2 separate regions of the Homo sapiens genome follow, and region 2 is linked to region 1. The links are contacts of gene promoters, found by promoter capture Hi-C in human tissues and cell types (Jung and others, 2019). All regions are on one chromosome and are shown on one strand. The core of a region is centred on a gene start or on the middle of the fragment in contact, and the rest is flanking DNA. Distances in the headings are between cores, read along the strand shown. Region 1 holds the start of OVCA2 (OVCA2 serine hydrolase domain containing). Region 2 overlaps CRK (CRK proto-oncogene, adaptor protein).

Region 1 (4,040 bases), core at 1,541-4,040:
CCCTGGCAACTATGTCTGAGGGCTAAACAGGAGTTGGTGTGATCTTCCAGAAAAAGAACAGGCTTCTTGTCTTGCAGAGGCAGGAAGTCAGAAAACAAGAGTGTGTGTGTGTGTGTCAGGGGGTGGGGGGTGTCAGGTGGCACTGGAAATGGGAGGGAACTCATTAAGAGTGGGCAATTGGCCAGGTGAGGTGGCTCACGCCTGTTAATTCCAGCACTTTGGGAGGCCAGGACAGGTGGATTGCTTGAGCTCGCAAGTTGGAGACCATCCGCACAACATGGTGAGACCCCTTCTCTACAACAAATACAAAAATTAGCCAGGCATGGTGATTTGCGCCTGCAGCCCCAGCTGCTTGGGAGGCTGAGGTGGGAGGATGGATGGCTTGAGCCCGGGAGGTGGAGGCTGTCAAGATTGTGCCACTGCACTCCAGCCTGGGTGATAGAGTCAGACCTTGTCTTTAAAAGTAAAGAAAACAAAAAAAGAGTGGGCAATCCTAGGTAGGTGCAGTGGCTCAGGCCTATAATCCTAGCACTTTGGGAGGCTGAGGCAGGTGGATTGTTTGAGCTAAAGAGTTTTGAGACCAGCCTGGGCAACGTGGCAAAACCCTATCTCTACAAAAAAATATAGAAATTAGCCAGGCGTGGTGGCGCATGCCTGTAACGCCACCTACTCAGGAGGCTGAGACAGAACTGCTTGAACCCAGGAGGCTGAGGTTGCAGTGAGCCAGGATCTTGGCCACTGCTCTCCAGCCTGGGTGACAGAGTGAGCCTGTCTCAAAAAAAAAAAAAAAAAGAGTGAGCAATCCTCAAAGTATCCAAGAACAACTACACGCCCCAAGGGGAAAACCAGCTGGATTGCTTAGGCCTTGGCTGTAGTCACTAAAGAATGGCATCAATCTCAGAAACCCTCAAGATGGGGTCAATTTAGGAAGAAGCTGTTTATTCTGTACTGTCTTTGGCCTCCACCTAAGGTCTGGCATCGACCCACCCTTCAGGCTCATAGTTCAGCGAGGTTAGAGCACTTAGGGAGAAGCAGGTAACACATCCAGGGTTTGAGAGAAGACCAGCACACAACTCTCAGTGATCTGGATAGAGGAAGACTAAATTACTGTGGTTCAGGCAGCCTTGCCAGGTGATGTCTTCCCAAAACTTCTCAGATGTATATTCCTCCCTGATTGTGCCACCTAGGCCTCCTTCCCTTCAGTTTGGGACTTAAAACTTCCACCAATAACGTGAGTATGTGCACCCATGCAGCAGCCTGTCCGAGGACTCACAACTGGAGACACCTCCCTGCTTGGCGCTGCCCAGAAAACTATGTAGATGGCCAAGAAACCGACTTCCATTATAAAATGTTTTTCTGTGTGTACCAGGAAAAAGATGCTCAAAATCCAAATCACCACTTTATTATGTGGCAGTCACCATGGTGCCAGCCTCTGCCTTCCCCATGTCACCCTCCTAATCCAGGGCTCTCCAACCATATTCATGTTTGCGTTTTCACAAGTCAATGTCCATTAAGGCCTTGTGCTCCCCTTTTCTTCAGTACAGGGCAGGGCCCTTATAATTTGGGTCTCAAGAATTGATAGTTGTCTCTTAACTGGTTCTGGTGAGGCGCACTCACAGCAGTGAGTGGAGGGTCCTGGGAGGGCATGGATGACGGAGGCTGCCCCTAGAGGAGCTGGATGTAGGAGCAGAGACATTTCTTGATCTTTCACTCTGCAAACTGGTCCAAGAACTTGAGGTAGGCCTGACGCTGGGGTGCAGCTGCTGGAATGAAGTGGCCACCAGAGTGGGTGAGGGTGATGGCTCCGGGAAATTGGCTGGCCAGTTGCACACTCTCCTGAGAGGGGATGACTTTGTCAGTGTCCCCAAAAACATGGAGCGAAGGCAATGACAAGGGCCTTTGCAGGATGGATTCCTTGAACCCAATGCCCCGGGGACAGAAACCAGACACCAAGAGGATAAACCGTGGCAAGGGGAAGCGGGGATCGCCTGCCTGGCCCAGGGCACACACAAGGGCTGCTAGCGCAGCCCCTTGGCTGAAACCAAGAAGGCCGTCAAAAGGCCCCAGCCTGTTCAGTGCCTGTGCCACCATCCCCAGTGATTCCTCCAGGCCCCTGCAGACGGCGGGCTCTTCCAATGCGGAGAAAACGTCGGCCTCCTGCTCTGAAAACCACCAGCCTCGAGGCTGCTCCTCCGGAGGGCAGGACCCTACAGCGATATGAGGAAAAAGGATGGGATTAGGGCATGGGAGGCTCCAGGAAGGAAAGAAATGAGAAAGGGCAGGAGGGTTCGAGATGACAGAGAGAAAAAGGGAATCGAGGCAAAAGTCTGGGGGAAATGAGAGGGGGGAAATGAGTGGATTGGCCTGAACAGGAGACAGCGGAGGAAGACGGTGAAGGCGGAAGCCTGGGAGGACAGGCTGCAGTTTGAGCAAAGAGGGTATGGGTCGCGAGAAATGAAGGGTGTGGACTGGGTGGGAGGAATGCGGGTGGACGCAGGGTGGGGGATGCTGAAGGGTGTCGAGGGGGACGAAACAAGATGGAGGAAACTGAGTGCGTTTCCGGAGCGGGGCTTGTCTCACCGAAGTCTGATCTGGCGCCCTCGGGGCCCGGGGGGTCGGGGACCGGGTGCGGGCCGCTGAGGCACACGAGCTCGGCGCGACCCCGCAGCGCCTTCCTCAGCGCCCCGGTCTTCTCACGGAAGCCCCGCTCGCTCTGCCGGAAGCCCGCCAGGCACAGGACCCGCAGGGGTCGCTGCGCGGCCATTATGCCCGGCAAGGAGCGACGGAAGCACCGGAAGCGGTCTTTCCCCGAGCGGAAGCACAATGCACGGGGCGGAACCGAACGTCAGCACCGCCCCGAGGGCGGGCCTCGGAGCGCCAAGGCGTTCCCATGACAACGGCAAAAGGCGGGGCGCACCCAGAGCGGGGGCTGATACCTGAGGCCCGGGAGCGCGTCAAGGAGCCAGCGGCGCCACCTTCTCGTCCCTGCAGCTGCAGTCCTCGCAAGCCACGGCCGAAGGGGGACGCGCGGACCCCTCCTGCACCTGAGGTCGCAGACTTTGGTTAGGGTCTCGCTCCTGCGACCCTGCGTTTCCCTCCGCTCCGCTCCTGTGCGTTTCCCGTCGCGGTCGCAGGGCGGCGGCCAGTGCCCAGGCGCGGTCTCTCCTCCCTCCTGGAAGCCCCCGCCTACCTTCCCCCGCGCGGGCCGGCCCGGGGCGTGGGGACGGCGGTCCTGGCCGTGGTTCACCGTCCAGGGCCCCAAGGAGCTGCCAGCGTAGAAGTCCATCGGGTAGGGCTGCTGCCAGGAAATGTCCCTCAGAGCCACGGCCGCCTAGGGGAGGGGAGGGAGGGACAATAACATCTGCCAGTGTTTTTCTGCCCCTGGATTACTGAATTCAGTCCTCACGACGGCCTGTGAAGGGCACACTGTCCCCTGCCACAGAAGGGAACTGTGTGGTTCAGGGCCTTGCCTAAGGCTACACAGCTAGGAAGTGACTCCGCTGGAGAAATCGAGACAGACTCCGGAATCTACGAACATAACGAAGTGCTGCCCACCCACCCCACTCCACTCCAGACCTCACCTTTGAGAACCACGTCCAAAGCCCACTCTCTCCCAGAGCTTGGTGTTACCTCATAGGGTGTCAGCAGCGGCTTGGGGAAGGCTGTGCCCCAGTCAATGGAGAGACGTGGACATGCCACCTGCACCCACCTGGGAAGGGAAGCCAGGTCAGACCCTAGGAAGGGCCTCCTCGTCGCCCAGGCAGCATGCTGAAGAACATGACAGTGCCCCCAGCACACCCATTCATTAACAGGCTTTATGAATCCTAAAGTAAAGACAGTGACCCACTGCTGTTTGGAATACTGTATTGTTGCGTGTTTTCTCCTGTTTCCTCTGCCGACAATGAGCTTTCCAGGGCAGCTCACTGGTGATAGTATCCCCAGAACCACATTTAGTACCTGGTACAGGGCAGGTGTCAGCCACCGCTCAAACTCATCTCACAAGGACAAATGTGATGTTGCCATTGCCTCTGAGCCCCAAA
Region 2 (4,138 bases), core at 762-3,261, 600 kb after region 1:
TCTTGAGATCCTGTGGAATTTTCTCTGGGAAACGGTCCAGTGGGCTCTGGATTTGAGGATGAATTGAAAATTGCTGAAGGAATTTGGAGAATTGGTTGCTTTTTATTGAGCACCTATAATGTACGAGCCACTTTTTCTTTTTTTTTTTTTTTTTTTTTTGAGATGGAGTCTTGCTCTCACCCAGGCTGGAGTGCAATGGCATATTCTCGGCTCACTGCAAGCTCTGCCTCCCAGGTTCAGGCAGTTCTCCTGCCTCAGCCTCCCCAGCAGCTGGGACTACAGGCGTGCACCACCATGCCCAGCTAATTTTTGCATTTTTAGTAGAGATGGGTTTCACCATGTTGATCAGGCTGGTCTTGAACTCCTGACCTCAGTGATTTGCCTGGCTCTGCCACCCAAAGTACTGGGATTACAGGCGTGAACCCCCACGCCCAGCCTCTAGCCACTTTAGGAACTTTATTTATTAGATAGGTATTTGACCCCATTTTGCAGAGTCGGGGGTGAGGCACACAGAAGTTAGGTAACTCAGACAGCTAGAAAATGAGAGCCACAATGCACCAAACCTGCAAAGGACCGTCCTCATACCCACCATCTTTAGAACATTCTATTTGCTTAGGAGACCATATATCTTCTCAGATGGAAACCAGTGGCCTTCTGTCGCCCAGGCTGGAGTGCAGTGGCGCGATCTCTGCTCACTGCAAGTTCCGCCTCCCGGGTTCAAGCGATTCTCCTGCCTCAGCCTCCCGAGCCAGTGGCCTTTTTAGCGTTTTGTATTGGTGGGTATTTATCTAAGCAACCCCTGTAAATACCACAGGCAGAGAAGGAAGGGAGGGAGCAAGAATTGAGGAAAAAAGGGAAAAGAGGGCCGGGTGTGGTGGCTCGCGCCTGTAATCCCAGCACTTTGGGAGGCTGAGGCTGGCTGATCACTTGAGGTCAGGAGTTCGAGACCAGCCTGGCCAACATGGCAAAACCCTGTCTTTCCTAAAAATACAAGAATTAGCCAGGTGTGGTGGTGGGCGCCTGTAATCCCAGCTACTCGAGAGGCTAAGGAAGGGAGAATTGCTTGAACCCAGGAGGCAGGAGGCAGAGGTTGCAGTGAGCTGAGATCGCACCACTGTACTCCAGCCTGGGCAACAGAGGGAGACTCCGTCTCAAAAAAAAAAAAAAAAAAAGGAAAAGAGAAAGTGCTGTGAGATCAAGGAGAGCCTGGCCCGCTCTTGTAGACCCGTCAGAAGTGATTGGGCCTATTTTAGCCCACAGAGCCCTCAGGTGTTCTTCATGAAACCTTCAGGGAGGGAGTGGCCTTGTAAAAATGGTCGTAACCTGAGGCTTGAAATGCTTGGAAGGCTTAGAAGTAACGGGCTGAGCAGGTACCGAGAAGCTGAAAGGATATCCTCTCCTTGCATTGATTTTGATTTCCGTTTGTGTGACTTCCTAACTCCACGTTCAGAATCCAGCACAGGGTGATGTAGAACAAGTCATTGAGGTTTTCCAAGTCCCAGATAGCTATGAGAATCCTGTCGTTGCTTCTGTTCTCTAGACTGGCTGACTGTGCCTCCTTCCTTTCCCGCCCTTCTATTTCCTGCCTTTGGCTGTTTGTGGTTGGAAGGAGAGGAAAGAGAGAAAAGGAGCCGGAACACACAGCCATGGTGAGGTTTGGGCTTATCTGGGACTTATGTGTGTTCTGTTCTCCTCCCTTCCTTCTGGAGTTTGGATCAATGAAGCTTGATGGCCCCCAGCAGTTCACAGAAACGGGCATTTCTCTGTGAAATTATTACAGTGTCAGAATAGAAAAATAATTTATAAGTAAAGTACATCAAAGGTTTTCCGTGGCGTTTTGCTTACGTTTCTGTGTCTATTGGGATTGCCAAACAAAAAGAAAGTCACGGCCGGGCGTGGTGGCTCACGCCTGTAATCCCAGCACTTTGGGAGGCCGAGGCGGGCGGATCACGAGGTCAGGAGATCGAGACCATCCTGGTTAACACGGTGAAACCCCGTCTCTACTAGAAATACAGAAAAAAAAACCCGGGCGTGGTGGCGGGCACCTGTAGTCCCAGCTGCTCGGGAGGCTGAGGCAGGAGAATGGCGTGAACCCAGGAAGCGGAGCTTGCAGTGAGCCGAGATGGCGCCACTGCAGTCCAGCCTAGGCGAAAGAGCGAGACTCCGCCTCAAAAAAAAAAAAAAAAAAAGTCATAGTGAGCCCAGTTCACGCTATTGTGGCATTTGACCAAGAAGAGAATTAAACCTGCTTCCTACCTTTGCGCCAGATGATCTGCCAAGTTTTCTCTCACTCATCTTTCAGAGCGACTTGGCTTAGTAGTCTCATTTGTTCTTTCCCCGCCAAAATGTATTTCGCTCGGCCTGCTATGGTAACAGTGGCTGGCAGGGGGTGGTTACCTTCCTTCTTCCAGTGGAGAGAGTACCTTGGAAGTGTTCACAGATGGTCGTAGTTGCTCATGGCGATTCTGTTGTATCTCAGGACACAGTGCGTTATTCCAACTGTCTTTAGCAGGAACATAGATCCAGGTGAAGGTGAAAGCCGGGTGGGAGGTTGTCTTCCTAAGACGTGCCGCTTTCTCCTTGTTCACCAGCCACACTGTGCTTGCTGTGTTATCTCCAACAATGCTGTGAACTTCTCTGAGCTTCTCCAGTCTAGGAAGGCATTGTGCTTAGCTTCTTTCCATCACTTCAGAGTTAGGCTTATTAAGATAATATCTGGCTGGGCGCGGTGGCTCATGCCTGTCATCCCAGTACTTTGGGAGGCCGAGGCAGGCAGATCACAAGGTCAAGAGATCAAGACCATCCTGGCCAACATGGTGAAACCCCATCTCTTCTAAAAATATAAAAATTAGCAACACTTAACTGAGCACTGACCTGCCAACCACTGTCCCAAAAGGACAACTAATAGAACACCTTGGCATGTAGTTGGGTAAACCTTAGCAAGGGAGCTTTTCTCCACCCAGCTGTGATCAGAACCATTTCTAAGCCATGGGTGCCCAGGTGGCCTCCTTACCACTCTGCCCTAGAGTTTTCTTGACCAGGCAGTGCTAAGTAGGTCCCTATGCGCTCACACTGACCCTGTCCTAAACAGTTTCTCCATAGGCCTGAAAGATCACCCAGAATTAGCCTAATGGTGATAGGCAAGGTAGCCATGAATCTCCTTGACTACCAGACTTGAATAGGAATTATTCTCCATCAGTGATCCTCCTCAATAAAGAGAATCTCCAGAATATAGCACCTCCGTGCTCTGCTACAGTCATAACCAAAATCCCCTCTCCAGTCCTGCCCTCGGAACTTTTGCGATCATCTTCTATTGGTGCATGAGGAGTGTTTGCCATAGAGGACAGTCCTGGCACTCGCACCCCTTTCAGTGTCTTAAATTGGAGAGACAGCCAGTATTCCTGAGTCTGGGCTGTTCACTGTTTTAAGCTGACAGCTGTGAATTCCACAGGTGGACTTTGGGTAATATGAAAAATGTACGGCTCTCCTTCAGATGGTCTCATCATTCATTTGGATGGAAAGAGAAGGCACTCATCAGTACTCTTTCTACCGGAAGGACTTTTCATTGGCTTCCAAAGTTAACATTGTGTCTTATTACCTCTCTCCAATAGTGGAATGATTTTTTTTTTTTTTTGACGGTGTCTCGCTCTGTCGCCCAGGCTGGAGTACAGTGGCGCGATCTTGGCTCACTGCAAGCTCTGCCTCCCAGGTTCATGCCATTCTCCTGCCTCAGCCTCCCGAGTAGCTGGGACTACAGGCGCCCGCCACCATGCCCGGCTAATTTTTTGTATTTTTAGTAGAGACAGGGTTTCACCATGTTAGCCAGGGTGGTCTGGATCTCCTGACCTCGTGATCCGCCTGCCTCGGCCTCCCAGAGTGCTGGGATTACAGGCATGAGCCATCGTGCCTGGCCCCTATGCCATTCTTTTTTTTTTTTTTTTCTTTTGAGATGGAGTTCTGCTCTTGTTGCCCAGGCTGGAGTGCAATGGTGCGATCTCAGCTCACCGCAGCCTCCACCTCCCGGGTTCCAGCGATTCTCCTGCCTCAGCCTCCCAAGTAGCTGGGATTACAGGCATGAGACTCACGCCTGGCTAATTTTGTATTTTTTTTTTTAGTAAAGACGGGGTTTCTCCATGTT

What was found. The method cuts DNA at HindIII sites, captures the fragments that hold promoters and counts their contacts. A contact is called where the count stands out against the background at its distance.
Region 2: a fragment that was not itself captured here is called in contact with the fragment with the promoter of OVCA2 in region 1 in 1 of the 25 tissues and cell types used here (lymphoblastoid cells).

Annotation. Positions count from the first base shown.
Region 1 is chr17:2,040,772-2,044,811 of GRCh38, reverse strand. OVCA2 (OVCA2 serine hydrolase domain containing) reads right to left here and starts at 2,790. Exons shown (of 2, transcript NM_080822.3): 1 at 2,581-2,790; 2 at 1,387-2,207. The coding sequence starts at 2,764. The coding sequence ends at 1,708. It overlaps DPH1 (diphthamide biosynthesis 1), which reads right to left. Exons shown (of 13, transcript NM_001383.6): 10 at 3,631-3,709; 11 at 3,191-3,331; 12 at 2,937-3,044; 13 at 914-2,207. The coding sequence ends at 2,955. RefSeq lists silencers at 2,488-2,687, 3,198-3,287 and an enhancer at 2,878-2,937. The HindIII fragment of the contact is 24,727 bases long and covers 1-4,040 here.
Region 2 is chr17:1,444,642-1,448,779 of GRCh38, reverse strand. The region is part of intron 1 of CRK (CRK proto-oncogene, adaptor protein); the gene reads left to right. Among named protein-coding and RNA genes, the nearest start is that of CRK, 9.5 kb to the left of the region's middle. The HindIII fragment of the contact is 7,305 bases long and covers 1-4,138 here.